2 separate regions of the Homo sapiens genome follow, and region 2 is linked to region 1. The links are contacts of gene promoters, found by promoter capture Hi-C in human tissues and cell types (Jung and others, 2019). All regions are on one chromosome and are shown on one strand. Each heading gives the region's core, a stretch centred on a gene start or on the middle of the fragment in contact. The rest is flanking DNA. Distances are from core to core; before and after follow the strand shown.

Region 1 (7,496 bases), core at 3,056-5,555:
TGGCACACAAGCGACGCTTGAGCTTAGCACACTCAGGCTGCTGCCGCTGTCTGCTCTCTGCAAGCTCCAGTTCAGCAGATTTAATGCTATGTTTTCAAAGATACTTCCCGTTATTCCTGAAAAATAAGTATTTTTATAAGCCCTGTGAAAGGATCAAGATAAAGGAACAACAGTGGGTAGGCACCCCCCGGTCCCAAAACCGTCCTGGGCCAGAAGCTAATTCATAACACCTGCAGGGTGAACACAGCGACCAAGCCTCAAGAGACAGGCTGTCCTCCCCGTAAATCCCACACCTCGTCAGCAATGTCCTCAACAACACCCTCGGGAAATCTGATTTCCCAAGACTTTCTCCAAAGGCCCCTCACCAAGGAGCCACCAGGGCACGCAGGCAACCAGTAAGCCCTTGAGGGACCAAAACTGTGTGGCCACATCAAGGGCTTCGCCCAAGCCAGAATTCCAACGTCAGATCGCCTGCGCATTCCTCAGGCAGCCGCCCTGAAACCCCGTTTCTGACACCTGAGTTTCTGATCCATCAGCTGGGCAGGACCTGCTCTCTCTCACCAAGAGCCACGGGGTTCCATTGGTGCTGGGAGGTCCCTGTTAAAAGGGACCTCCTTTCAGCACAAGCCCAGGAGCAGATTCTGCACCTCCCCTGCCCTCACACGCAGATGAGCTGAAGCCAGGGTTGGAGCCTCCACAAAAGCAGTTGTGGATTCTGCCCATGCTTGTCTATACAAGTGCGTGTTATTTGCATAATCTGAAAGGGGTACTCTAAGGATCAATACACGATAATCAGTCTATAAACATTTAAAGCAAACTTCAACCAAATGCTTGCTCTCCCAGATAAAGATCTCAGGAATCTGTAACTTCAAGAGAACTTTTAGAGGTGGTCAAGATAAGTCAATTATAAAACAGCCCACGTGCAATTCTGGGAACTTGCTTAGTAAAAATCAAACACCTGGGCTGGTGAGCAGAGTCAATGACGGTTGAAGGCAGTTCCTCTTCCCTGATGTCTTCACCTTCCAGCCTCCAAGTGGTGGGACACCGCAGAAGAGAACCGCGGAGCTGTTGCTGGAAATGACCACACCAGCAATCAGAGAAAAAAAGAAAAACAGAGGAAAAACCTTTTAAGTGAAAGTGACTCAGGCTCTCTAGAGGAAGGCAGATGCTCTTCACCAACCGACGTCCCAGAGGCGTCGCAGGGATGAGAACTAAACTCACACCTATCACCTTCCAACATCAGGATGGAATTATGCCCAATATTCTCTACTTCATCACAAAGCGGCACAATCTATTATGGAAAGACTTCCATATTTAATCAGTCCCTCATTCTCACGGGGGACGGGCTGCAGGACTCCTTCAGATACCAAATTCCACATCCACAGATACTCAGGTCCCGCAGTCAACCTGGAGAACCCACTGATCCAGAAAGTCAGCGCTCTGTATAAACAGGCTGGGCTCCACACCCAGCAAACAGTGTTGGGCGTGGAACCCATGGATGCGAACAGCAGACGATTTACTGAAAAACATCTACATAAAGGTGGCCCTCGCAGACCAAAGCAAGTTGTTCGAGGGTTAGCTGTAAATTGTGTATAAAGAGCTGCTGAGCTGGAACTCAACGTCCTGGAGAAATCCATCACTGTTGGCTTTAAGCAAAAGCTGCGGAGATTTCTACCTGCAACTCTCTATGGAGAGACGTCAGCAAAGCCACCACAAGTCCACACTGCAGGGCGCTACTCCCATCACAGGGGTGCTGCCAGAGAAACGCACTTGTAACCCACCCTGTTCACAAAATCTGTCAACAAGTGACTGAATCTAGTAATTTTCAACTGTGTTCCACAAAGGTGCAGCAGGCATTTTGGGGAGGCCAACACATACCGGCTCCCAACGGCAGCCCCCCAGAGCCAGGGCAGTGTCATCTGGACCACACGGAGCCGACCGTCAGCAGCATGGACTCCTGCTGCAAATGCACCTCCCGAATTCAGCTGGCTAATGCAACTGCGAGGCAGGAACCTGATTCCAAACAGACGACCAGAACTGCCAGGGCACATGCACACAGGGCTTTAGACTAAAGCCCTTCCAGTCGCTCCTTCCTGGATCTATGGCACCCACGCCCACTGCACGGGCAGGAACACCTCCGGAAATGCTGACGTCACACCACCACCACCACACTCCCCAGAACGCTCATAAAACCCATGTACACAAACCCACAGGAGTACACAGAAACGGGGAAGAAGCCACCTCAAATTCCAGGCAGCACCGTCTGTGGCTTTCTCTAAGGCAAGGATTTACCTGCCGCCCATGGACTGGAGGCAGAGAGATGAGCCTCCTGGAACCAGAGGGACACCTGGTGCCACACAGACGCTCCATCTGAGGAGAAATGATATCACATCAGTGTCTCAAAGGGCCCTGTGAGGTACCCCAAGATCTCAAACAGCACCTCCCTGTAAACACTACTGACTGCTGGGAACCCGTCATCAAGCTCATGACCTGGCTGGCTGACTGACTGATGCACTGGGTTGGTTTTATTCACTAGACTGACTGAACATGGAATTTCAATACTAACTTGCCACATAACCAAGTTACTCACCTGTCTAGGCCAAAGCAGCCCTTTCTGTACAATCAGAGGAACAGAATGAAACCTCAGTAGGGATCTTCCATCCTGGGGTTTTCTGTCCAGGGAATACACCAGCATTGGGATCTGCCTCCACAATCCTCCCAGGTACGGCCAGTGCCCACTGAGGAAGCCGTGAAGGCATTTTCTGGGAGGCAAGGCCCTGAACCTCCCAGCCCCACCCACCAGCACGCAGGGGGCAGGAGTGAGTGCCCGTGCCGAGGGTCAAGGACCCAGGCTCTGTCTCCAAAGGAAGCGGAGCCAGGACGTTCTGGGGCTGTGACGGGAAGACTCCTGTCCCAGTCCTCACTCTTGCGGAACCAGATGCAGAGAAGATCCTCAACAAACACAGGGTCAGGGCAAGCCAAAGGGACGAGGAGCCGCGGCTGCCGAGGAGGGAAGAGAGTGGCATCCCCAGAAGGAGCGGCACCTTTCCCAGAGGGAGCTCACGCCCGGCCCACTGCGGGCTGGAGTGTCCACCTCTCCCTGGAGTTTCTGTTCTCACAATCAAAACTACCAGAGCCAGGCGCACACGCGTGTCCACTTGCCCGCCCATCCCAGAACACAAGGGTAGATTCAAACATGGCTGGACACTTCGGTGCTACGGAAACATATCCCCTTCTGGGGTCAGAGCACAGCTACTGAGAGCTGTGGAGTCTGTCACAACGCCCACGTCACCCTGAAGCAGCCTGCGACAATGCCCACTGTGGTCAACCACGGGGCTACTGCCTTCGCTGCAGGCCTGGGTTCCGCCCGTTCCTTAGCCACGAAACAGAACTGCACCAGGTTTTACAACTGCGTTTCACAAAGTTTACAAAAATTTAAAGATGTGCACACACCCAACAGTTTATATTTCAATAACAGGTCTGGAGCCTGCCTGATGACTCTTGTGCTCACAGCCACCCATGAGTTTTCCTAAGTCACAAAGGTGGAGCTAAAGGAAGGGGCGGGGACTATCACTGCAGAAAGAAAGAAACAAACATAGCTTTTCCAAACAGTAACTTCGTGTCGCTACGCAGGACCCTTTCCTTTTATCTCAAAATGCTCCCCGTTGGTAAAACCACAGGTGGTGACTATCCAGTTTTAGGGGAGAAGCGCAGTGCCTGCGTCCCGCTTTATCGCTCCCTCACCAGGGGCGCCCCTGCCCACCGCGGACGCAGCAGCCCGGGGGTCCTCCAGGATCCCTCCCCGGAGCCGCCCGCCCTCGGCCCCGCCCGGCTCAGCACACTCACCCTGGGGCGACCACCTGGCCCGGCTGCGCGCACAGCTCCCGCACCACGCCCGCGCGCTCCGACCTCAGCCTGCGTTCCGGCCGCGCGGGGCGCACGCAGCCCCCGGAGGCTACACGGGACTGAGAGGCCCCGGAGGACTGCGCGGAGGCGGCGGCCTCGAACACGGCCAGCACCGAGCCGATGCGCACGGCCGCGCCCGCCGCCACCCTCCACTCCAGCAGGCGCAGCGGCGCGGGCCCCGGGCAGCGCACCTCGGCCACAGCCGCCGTCGGGGCGCCCTCGGCAGGAACGCGACCCGCGGCCGGCACCTCCATCGCGGACAGAGGGCGGGCGGGCGGTCGGTACGGGGCCTGCGCTGCGCTCAGAGCGCAGCGCCTACCGCGGCGACACAACCCAGGCGGCGACGCTGTAGTTCCTCTCGGTACCGGCTTCCACCCGTCGCCTAGCCCGCGCCGACTTCCTGGAGGGCGCGTGACGTCACGCAAGGGCGCCGCGTACGTGCGTACGTGCGCGTGTAAATACGAGCGCCGCGCGGGGCCGGAGCCGGCTCCGTCCTGGGACCAACCCTGCGTGCCGGCCGTGAAGAACTGCGTTCCTGAGCCCTACCTACTTTTCCTCGGAGCGCCGGCACCGTGGAGCAGCGGCATGCAACGCGGGCCGCTGTCGCCCAGTCCCAGTGACGGTCTTGGCGCGCTCGGAACTACGTATCCCGGCGTGCACCGCGGACAGAGCATGGCGGGACTACGAGTCCCAGCGTTCAACGCAGGCCTGCGTGCCATTACCCCATCACGCGCTGAGACCCAGCATCCCGAGACTACGAGTTCCGGCATGCACCGCGAGCCGCTCTCCTCCACTCCCATCGCGCACTGTGAGTCGCAACGTCGCGGGACTACGGGTCCCGGCATGCCTTGCGCGCCGCGGGCCCAGAGACGTGAGGCTGTCGGCGTCCTGGTGGCCCCGCCTCGTGTCCCCCCCCGGACCCCACGCCGCGGGAGCTTGGGGGTTGCGGTCTTCTCTTCCTCCGACCTCACCTTCGATGCGGAAGCGCAGGGGCAGGTGCGCCGCCCTCGGCCCGCGCAGGCGGTGGGCCCGTCTGGGGCAAGGCGCCCGGAAGCGCCTGGTTGGTTCAGAAAATCGGACCGCAGCGGGAGGGCGGGCACCGGCGCGTGGTCTCAGTGGCCCCAGGCGAACCCTGATGAGCAGCAGCCGCAAGTGGCTTACTAAAGGAGCCACTTTCTACGTTTGTCTGGAATTTACGTGAATTAAGCTGGCGGGCGGGCGGCCAGGCCTGTAGTCTCAGCACTTTGGGAGGCTCAGCACTTCGGGAGGCTGTGGCGGGCGGATCACCTGAGCCTGGGAGTTGGAGACCAGCCTGCGCAACGTAGCAAGACCCTATCTCTAAAACAGATTCATTAATACTTAGCCAGGCGCGGTGGCTGAGGTCCCAGCTACTCGGCAGGCCCAGGCTGGCCTGAGCCAGACCGCTCTGGACTGTTTTAATTTTTTCAGCCTTAATACCTGCCAGAATTTTTTTTTTACTATGTATCTTTGTCCTTACGTATATAAATTTTATATACAATTGAGATTATCCTGTATTTGCTTTTCCCCCCTCACTTTTATATGGTGACTTTTCTCATGTTAGGCTGAATACTAACATTTTGGAAACTGTCGGCCTGAAAACGAGCGGAGACACAGTTTCTCTAAGTAGAGAGTTTATTTGGGCCACACTTGAGCACAAATTCAAGGCGCCCTGAATGTGTACTCCGATTAGCAGTTAACAGTGGATTTTAAAGGCAAAAAAGGGGGCCAGGGAGTGGACTAATAGGAACTTGTTTGTGAGGAATTCTCACTGGTTTACAGAAATAACATTGATTAGTGACTGACTATATGTTGTTCAGCTATTGAGTGTGGGTATAGTGTCCATTGTGGCGTCATTAGGTTAATTTATAGCTGTTTGTGGCGCTGTTGCCACCAGTAGCAGTTTAAAGAGGTGAACACAGGTCAAGGGGTAGTAGGGCGCGATTGTCGCCTCATTTGAATGTCTCTCTCGGCCTGATAATTAAAAGAACTCGCGTTCCTCAGATAAAAATTCTCTTTTCTCAAAACCATTTAAATGTGGTAATTAGAATGGCCCAGAAGGGGCACAGTGCCTTTTAGCCCTCGCCATTACTTGCTCTTAGGAGTGCATTTTTTGTAGCTGTGGGTTTTTGACTATCTCTGCTGCTTTCTCCAGCCCCTACCCTCGTGACTACAAGGGAAAACGTGCGGTGCTCACGAGAGAGCCTTTATGGGATTTTTAAAAAATGGGGATTGTGGGAAAATGGCTCCAGCAGTCACAGTTTTTCAGTTTCTCACAATCCCATAAAAACAGAGCAACCAGGTAACAAAACTAAAGCATGGGCAACATTTACAGACCACTGGATGGTGAAGAATTCCCATGAACCCCTGGTTCACACTGTAAGGACACACTACTCAGCATGGGCAACATTTACAGACTACTGGATGGTGAAGAATTCCCATGAACCCCTGGTTCACACTGTAAGGACAGACTACTCAGCATGGGCAACATTTACAGACCACTGGATGATGAAGAATTCCCATGAACTCCTGGTTCCAACTGTAAGGACACACTACTCAGCTGTAGCCTGAAGCCGCCTCCTTACATACTGTAAGTTTAGCCTATAGGTTTCTCCATACGTAGTGAACAGTCATCTAATTGGATGTGTGGACACTGTAACCTACTCTTGAATCAGTCACAGGCAGCAGCACTTCAAACTCTGTTTCAATAAGCCAGACACGAGCTGTAGCCACCCTGCTGTTTGCAGGCCTCACCTCTGCCTTCTGTGCCTCACTCCCTTTTCTGTCCGTAAGTCTTTGGCCACACAGTGGCACTGGAGTCTCTCTGAGCCTATTCTGGTTTGAGGGGTTCCCTGATTCCTGAATCATTCTTTGCTCAATTAAACTCTGTAAAATTTAATGTTTCTAAAGTTTTCCTTTGAACACTACCAACAGCGCAAGCCCAGGGTGATGTCGGGGCCTGCGAGAGAGAAAGTAGGGGGGCCAAGGGCTCCACACTCACTGTGTGAACAGGTTTGTCTCAAAGGTTGTTGATATGTATCAGCATTCCCTATTTGAACCTGTTCCCACCAGCAGTATGTGAACTTTGGTTTGAAAAAATAATTCTGTAAAATGGGAAGAACCGTGTGTTATGTATGGACTTTGAAATACAGACCTCGATGGAACTGACAGACTGATCTAGGTAGACAGATGTAGACATCCCTAGGTGATTACAACTCCAACCTGGATAGATGCCATGTAGTCTTCCAATTAGAGATGCTATACAGCCAATGAAACTTAACCATGTCTTTAATAGGTGTGCCACCTTTTGTTAAAATCAGTTATCTTACAAGTATCATGAGAAAAAACATTAGTATCAACAGATTGAAACATTTATTGGGAAGAAAGTGAGGCCACAGTCAGGAAAAATAGCATAAGCCACAACCTCTTAGTCAAGAATCTTAGAAACAGCTGTGTTTCGTGTGTTTCAGAACTCTGAATTGTTCTGATTTTAGGAAAGTGACGTGTGCATATTCCACTTGGGGCCTGGGGCAACACCCTCATCAAACTGATATTCCTGCAGCAAAATACAA
Region 2 (7,496 bases), core at 1,910-4,409, 130 kb before region 1:
TCACCCAGGCTGGATTCCAATGGCGCGATCTCGGCTCACCGCAACCTCCCCCTCCTGGGTTCAAGCGATTCTCCTGCCTCAGCCTTGTGAGTAGCTGGGATTACAGGCACCCGCCACCACACTCGGCTAATTTTGTATTTTTAGGAGAGATGAGGTTTCACCATGTTGGCCAGGCTGGTCTCAAACTCCTGACCTCGTGATCCGCCCTCCTTGGCCTCCCAAAGTGCTGGAATTACAGGCATGAGCCACTGTGCCTGGCCTATTTACTTATTTTTGAGACAGAGTCTCGCTCTATCACCCAGACTGGACTACAGTGGTGCGATCTCGGCTCAGTGCAACCTCTGCCTCCTGGGTTCAAGTGATTCTCGCGCCTCAGCCTCCTGAGTAGCTGGGAGTACAGGTGCGCACCACCACGCCTGGCTAATTTTTGTATTTTTAGTAAAGATGAGGTTTTGCCATGTTGGCCAGCTTGGTCTTGAACTCTGGGCCTCAAGTGATCTGCCTGTCTTGGCCTCCCAAAGTGATGGGATTACAGGCGTGAGCCACCAGGCCCGGCTTATAGTTTTCTAGTTTTCTTTTTTTGTAATGTCTTTGTTTAATGTGGTCGCCAGGTATGGCTGACCTCATTAAACCTCACATTGAGTGAGGAAGGGTTCCCTTCTCTTCTTTGAATGTTTGGTAGAATGAATTCTTCTTTAAGTATTTGGTAGAATTTTCCAGTAAAATCACCAGGTCTGGAGATTTTTCAGGACTTTTTAAGAATTAATTCAATTTTGTAACATATTATTAATATTACTTTGAGACCTTTTGTCTCTTCTAATCTAAGCACTGGATGTTATAAACCTCCCCCAAGAACTGTTCCGACCGTATCTCACATATGCTGCTCTGCTGTATTTTCACTTTCATTCAGTTCTATGTGTTTCGAATTTCCCTTTGAGACTTCCTCTTCGACCCATAGATAATTTTAAGGCATGTTATTTAATTTCCAAGTATCTGGAGATTTTCCTGTTGTCTTTCTGCTTCCTGAATCTGTAGATCTATGTCTTTTGCCAAATCTGGGAGGTTTTGGGGGCATTCTTTCTTCAAATACTTTTTCAGCCCCACTCTTTCTCCTCTCTTTCTGGGGCCTGATGATACAAGTATTAATACTTTTGTTATCGTCACACAACTCCCTGTGACTCTCTGCCCATGCTTTCCAGTCTTTCTTCTCTCTTCTGTTGATGTTGGGTAATTTCTGTGGGTCAGGTTCACTAATTCCATCCAGCGTGATCTCCCCTTTACTGTTCACCCCATGCAGTCAGAGTTTAAAAAACTGTTGTTATATATTTCAGTTACGTGATTTCATCTTTTTCTTTTTTATATCTTTCATTTCTTTGCTAAGATTTTCTATTCCTTCATTTGTTTCAGGAAAATACATGATTGGTGAAGCATTTTAAACCCATCGTTGATTGGTGAAGCCTACTTTAAAATAGTAGTCATATAAACCAACATCTGATTCAGCTTGATGTTGGTGTCTGTTAATTGTCTTTTTTCATTTATGTTCTGGTTTTCTTGGTTCTTGGTGAGTGACTTTTTTTTATTGTATCATGGACATTTTGGATATTTATTCTCTTGTATGTGGAATCCAGTTGTCCCAGCACCATCTGCTGAAGAGACTATTCTTTCTCCATTGCATGGTCTTGGCACTCTCATCAAAAGTCAGCTGACCACAGATGTATAGGTTTATTTCTAGAATTGCAATTGTATTCCATTGATCAATATGTCTCTCCTTATGCCAATACCACACTATTTTGCTTACTGTAGCTTTGTAGTAAGTTTTAATAAATAGTGTGAGAACTCCAACTTTGTTCTTTTTAAAGATTTTTTTCACTTACTTTGGTCCCTTGTAATTCCATATGAATTTTAGCATCAGCTTGTCCATTTCTGCAAAAAGTCAGCTAGGATTTTGATAGGAATTGTATTGAATCTATAGATCAGTTTGGGAGTATTGCCACCTTAACAATGTTAAGTCTTCCTATCCGTGAACATGGGATGTCTTTCCATTTCTTTAGGTCTGTAATTTCTTTCAGCAATGTTCTGTAGTTCTCAGCATACAAGTCTTACACCTCTTTGGTTACATTTCTTGCTAGGGGTTTTACTCTTTTTGATGCTATAGTAAATTGTCTTCCTAATTTCCTTTCCAGGTTTTTCATTGCTAGTATACAACAACACGCTGAGTTTTGAGTATTGTTTGACTCTAAGTTCTGGTTTGTTTTTGTTTTTGAGAAGAGCCTGACTCATGCTTCTAAGGTTGGACAGTCCTCATCATTCAGAGACTGTGCATATATTTACTTCTAGTTTTTTTCTACGTTTTTTGGTTTGTTTTGTCTTTTTATACAGCATCTCACTCTGTCACCCAGACTGGAGTGTGATGGTGTGATTGTAGCTCACTGCAGCTTCAAACTCCTGAGCTCAAGTGATCCTCCCACCTCAGCATCCCAAGTAGCTGCAACTACAGGCCTGTGCCAGCACACCTGGTTAATTCTTTTTTTTTAGAGACAGGGTCTTGCTATGTTCCCCAAGCTGGTCTTAAATTTCTGAGGTGATCTTTCCACCTTAGCCTCCCACAGTGCTGGGATTCTAGGCATGAGCCACTGCATCTGGCTACTTTGTTTTTTAATTTTTGATTTCTACGTTTCCTGCCTTTACTCACCAGCACTCGGCATCAGTATTTGACATGAGATGGGACCAAAGCTGGGTTTGCCTGCCCTGTAGAGCTGTGCTGGGCAGCCCCCAGCAAACCCCCTCCGGGACTAGGCGTGGTGCTTCCCCCCTCCCCACTGATCAGAAATTCTCCAGTCTCATCTTGGTCCTCTTTGTCCACCCTCTCTTCTCTCTTTTCCAAGGCTTCCTTTTCAAGTTTCTCTTTTTGTCCCTTTCACCTGATTTTTTTCCTTTAGACTATTACCCACTCCCCCCTCCCACCGCCTCCATCTTCCCTGGCTTTTAAATCAGATTCTGCCTTTGCACATGAGAAGCCCAGCTGGGTGCTGACACAGGTTCTGAGGGATGCTCCCTCGAGGTTTCATCCTCATCGGCCCTTCCACCCAGGCCCAGCGCAATGGGCGGGCGGCTCCGCGAGGCTGGCCCTGTGGACGGCGCTGAGACCAGAACCCACAGCCAAACGCCAATGAGCACAGGACTCCGCCCACCAGCCCCACAACCCCATGAGCCCCGGAAAGTTGGAGCGTCACGATAGTGGGAGGAGAAGCTTTAAAACCGGCAACAATGAAGGAGACGCAGAGGGCAGCCACGGGCATTTGGCCACATTCTTGTTTTTTCTGGACGAGGTGACCACAGCTCCTAGTGTGCAGTAGGACGCCTGGGCTGCAGCATCCGAAAAGTACGTCTTGAGTGGGCGTGAAGATTGCCTTCTGGGGAGCGAGGTTTAGAACCGAAAGCTGCATAAGCGGCAGGTGCGCTGGGCACCCGGAACGTGGTGTGGTCAGTGAGGCCCCGGCAGCTCCTCAGGGCGAGGACTCTGGGACCGTAACGTGGAGTGTGGTCAGTGAGGCCCCGGCAGCTCCTCAGAGCGCGGACTCTGGGCCGGTAACGTGGAGTGTGGTCAGCGCGGCCCCGGCAGCTCCTCAGAGCGCGGACTCTGGGCCCATAACGTGGAGTGTGGTCAGCGCGGCCCCGGCAGCTCCTCAGGGCGAGGACTCTGGGACCGTAACGTGGAGTGTGGTCAGTGTGTCCCCGGCAGCTCCTCAGAGCGAGGACTCTGGGCCCATAACGTGGAGTGTGGTCAGTGTGTCCCCGGCAGCTCCTCAGAGCGCGGACTCTGGGCCCATAACGTGGAGTGTGGTCAGTGTGTCCCCGGCAGCTCCTCAGAGCGCGGACTCTGGGCCCATAACGTGGAGTGTGGTCAGCGCGGCCCCGGCAGCTCCTCAGAGCGCGGACTCTGGGCCCATAACGTGGAGTGTGGTCAGCGCGGCCCCGGCAGCTCCTCAGAGCGCGGACTCTGGGCCCATAACGTGGAGTGTGGTCAGCGAGGCCCCGGCAGCTCCTCAGAGCGCGGACTCTGGGCCCATAACGTGGAGTGTGGTCAGCGAGGCCCCGGCAGCTCCTCAGAGCGCGGACTCTGGGCCCATAACGTGGAGTGTGGTCAGCGAGGCCCCGGCAGCTCCTCAGAGCGCGGACTCTGGGCCCATAACGTGGAGTGTGGTCAGTGTGTCCCTGGCAGCTTCTCAGAGCGCGGACTCTGGGCCCATAACGTGGAGTGTGGTCAGTGTGTCCCCGGCAGCTCCTCAGAGCGCGGACTCTGGGCCCATAACGTGGAGTGTGGTCAGCGAGGCCCCGGCAGCTCCTCAGAGCGCGGACTCTGGGCCCATAACGTGGAGTGTGGTCAGTGTGTCCCCGGCAGCTCCTCAGAGCGCGGACTCTGGGCCCATAACGTGGAGTGTGGTCAGTGTGTCCCCGGCAGCTTCTCAGAGCGCGGACTCTGGGCCCATAACGTGGAGTGTGGTCAGCGAGGCCCCGGCAGCTCCTCAGAGCGCGGACTCTGGGCCCATAACGTGGAGTGTGGTCAGTGTGTCCCCGGCAGCTCCTCAGAGCGCGGACTCTGGGCCCATAACGTGGAGTGTGGTCAGCGAGGCCCCGGCAGCTCCTCAGAGCGCGGACTCTGGGCCCATAACGTGGAGTGTGGTCAGTGTGTCCCCGGCAGCTCCTCAGAGCGCGGACTCTGGGCCCATAACGTGGAGTGTGGTCAGTGTGTCCCCGGCAGCTTCTCAGAGCGCGGACTCTGGGCCCATAACGTGGAGTGTGGTCAGCGAGGCCCCGGCAGCTCCTCAGAGCGCGGACTCTGGGCCCATAACGTGGAGTGTGGTCAGTGTGTCCCCGGCAGCTTCTCAGAGCGCGGACTCTGGGCCCATAACGTGGAGTGTGGTCAGCGAGGCCCCGGCAGCTCCTCAGGGCGAGGACTCTGGGCCCATAACGTGGAGTGTGGTCAGTGTGTCCCCGGCAGCTCCTCAGAGCGCGGACTCTGGGCCCATAACGTGGAGTGTGGTCAGCGCGGCCCCGGCAGCTCCTCAGGGCGAGGACTCTGGGACCGTAACGTGGAGTGTGGTCAGCGCGGCCCCGGCAGCTCCTCAGAGCGCGGACTCTGGGCCCATAACGTGGAGTGTGGTCAGCGCGGCCCCGGCAGCTCCTCAGGGCGAGGACTCTGGGCCCATAACGTGGAGTGTGGTCAGCGCGGCCCCGGCAGCTCCTCAGAGCGCGGACTCTGGGCCCATAACGTGGAGTGTGGTCAGCGCGGCCCCGGCAGCTCCTCAGAGCGCGGACTCTGGGCCCATAACGTGGAGTGTGGTCAGCGCGGCCCCGGCAGCTCCTCAGGGCGAGGACTCTGGGCATATAACATGGAGTGCCCGTCAGTGGCGCCGGAGCAACTTCTCAGAGTGCGGACTCTGGGGCCGAGGCTGAGGTGGGGGCTTCACAGCTGGACTTGTTTCTTCAGCGTGTGCTGCGGCGGGAGGGAGGAAGGGCTGGCCCAGGCGTGAGAGCATTAAGAAGAGAGAATTAGTGAGCCTGGGCCACGTACATGGGAGTCACACCAGTTTCTCATCTGTAAAATGGAGTGAATGCACGAGCGCAGAGGCGTTCTAAAAATCCCGGTGGGGTGACGTGTCAGAGCAGTCCGCGCCGCTGAGGTGGTCACTGAGCGCTTGCTTCTCTTGTGAGGGCGCTGGGTGCTCGGGTGTTTACGGTAGAGCAGAAAGGCTCATCATCTATGTCCTGGGGCAGATGCAGAGAGCGTCGGCAAGGTGAGGAGGGCGTGAGGTTTGCTCGCGGCACCCCAACACGAACAGGCTCAGACGGTGCATCTCCCTCAGAGGACCTCACTTTCATGCAAAAACATCAGACTACGCGACGAGCTCCCAGTATCCCTGAGCCACCCACTCGGAACCCTCAGTCCATCTGCATGTGTGACCCTGAGGTGCAGACAGATGCAGGCAGGCTGAGGTGGGTGCTGACCCTCGCTGGCCAGACCAAACCCTCCCGGGGTCAGTTTTCTCCTCCACAGAGGTCTGTCCAGCTCAAAGGTGCCCCTGAGCTCTCTGCAGCCCAAGGCTTCAGGCTATTTCTAACATTTAAACATGAAGAAAGATGAGGAAGTTTGCCCCTGGTGGAAATCTGAGACCCCACACAGACCCTAGATCCATGAGTAAGGGTGGAAAGAAAATTCCATGTATGCATTTTCTCTTTCTAGCCTTAAGTCAATGCAGATTTTTGAAAACTGCCCTTGAAATGAAATGGAAAGAATGTTATTTTCTTCTTTATTAATTTTGCGTGGAGTGGTTTTGAAGCCCTTAGTTCTGGTTTTATTTGAGAAAGCGTCACCATTACAGTCTAAAAAGGAAAGCTTCATGCACTAAAAAGGAGAGAAAGAGGCCAATTCATCAGTAAATCAAAACACCCTAAGGAAGAGTTAGAGAATCCATGTTCTGATGCTTCCTCCTAGCAAGTATTAATTTTACCAATTTTTTTCTAAAAACCATCATTTGAGAGATAAAAGACAACCTCTCATTCTAAAGTGCTTTCTTCTCAAGGCCTGGCTGGAGTTAACTGAAGCATTTGAAGGATCCTAGAATAATTTCCATAACTCAGGGGCCCCCAGCAACCAGTGAGACCATGTCGCAGGCCATGCAGAGCACGGTTCAAGAAACACCCATGAGACCATCCACTACAAACTCTCAGGGGGCTTGCTGATGGCCCCACACCCCAAACCCTGACACAGCGGCCTTGTCTGAGACCATGAATGCTCAGGGGGCTTCCCGATGGCCCCATGCCCCGACCCCCGACACAGCGGCCTTGCCTGAGACCACAAACGCTCAAGGGGCTTGCTGATGGCCCCACGCCCCAACCCCCAGCACGACGGCCTTGCCTGAGACCACACAGTGGCTTCCATGTGAGCTTCGTGGGCTGGATGCCTGGCTCTCAGCCCCTTTGAATGAGGGACCACTGAGTCCCACTGGGCGAGATTGAGACCTGCTGTCCTGCACCCTGGCAGGGAGAGGACAGACTCCCACCACCTGTGTGGGCTATCCCAGCCGCCTCCTTCCTCTGTCACCCTAACGTCCCAAAGCTCTGTGTGAACAGATGCAAGCTCGGGCCTGGCTGGATCAATCCACCTGTCACTCCCTGGGGCCTTCACTCCAGTCTCTCATCATTTTCCTTTTTTCTTGGCTCTGCCCTGTCCCCTAGGCGCGTGTGTGTGCACGTGTGTGTGTGTGTGTGCATGTGGACCTGCGTCTGTCTATATTTCCTCCTCCCCCACAACTAGACTCTAGATTTTAGCAGGTGGAGACATTTTTCTAGCTCTAACTCAGCACAGAATCCAGCTCACACTCAGAAACATCTGCTAATTTAACTTCCTCTGGCCCTGCAACCACACATGGTGGATGAGGCCGTCAGGTGAAGAGGCTGCAGCCCTGCAGGGCGCCAGGTGGTACATGGCCACC

Evidence for each region. Contacts are between HindIII fragments. The study calls those that stand out against the background at their distance.
Region 2: a contact is called between a fragment that was not itself captured here and the fragment with the promoter of CTDP1 in region 1, in 2 of the 25 tissues and cell types used here (heart left ventricle and spleen).

What each region holds. Positions count from the first base shown.
Region 1 is chr18:79,676,612-79,684,107 of GRCh38, reverse strand. CTDP1 (CTD phosphatase subunit 1) reads right to left here and starts at 4,305. Exons shown (of 13, transcript NM_004715.5): 1 at 3,847-4,305. The coding sequence starts at 4,160. CTDP1-DT (CTDP1 divergent transcript) reads left to right here and starts at 4,363. Exons shown (of 5, transcript NR_136643.1): 1 at 4,363-4,714. RefSeq lists enhancers at 1,533-2,039, 2,040-2,548, 4,164-4,672, 4,673-5,180. The HindIII fragment of the contact is 29,025 bases long and covers 1-7,496 here.
Region 2 is chr18:79,805,640-79,813,135 of GRCh38, reverse strand. The region is part of intron 1 of KCNG2 (potassium voltage-gated channel modifier subfamily G member 2); the gene reads right to left. Among named protein-coding and RNA genes, the nearest start is that of KCNG2, 11 kb to the right of the region's middle. The HindIII fragment of the contact is 3,330 bases long and covers 1,495-4,824 here.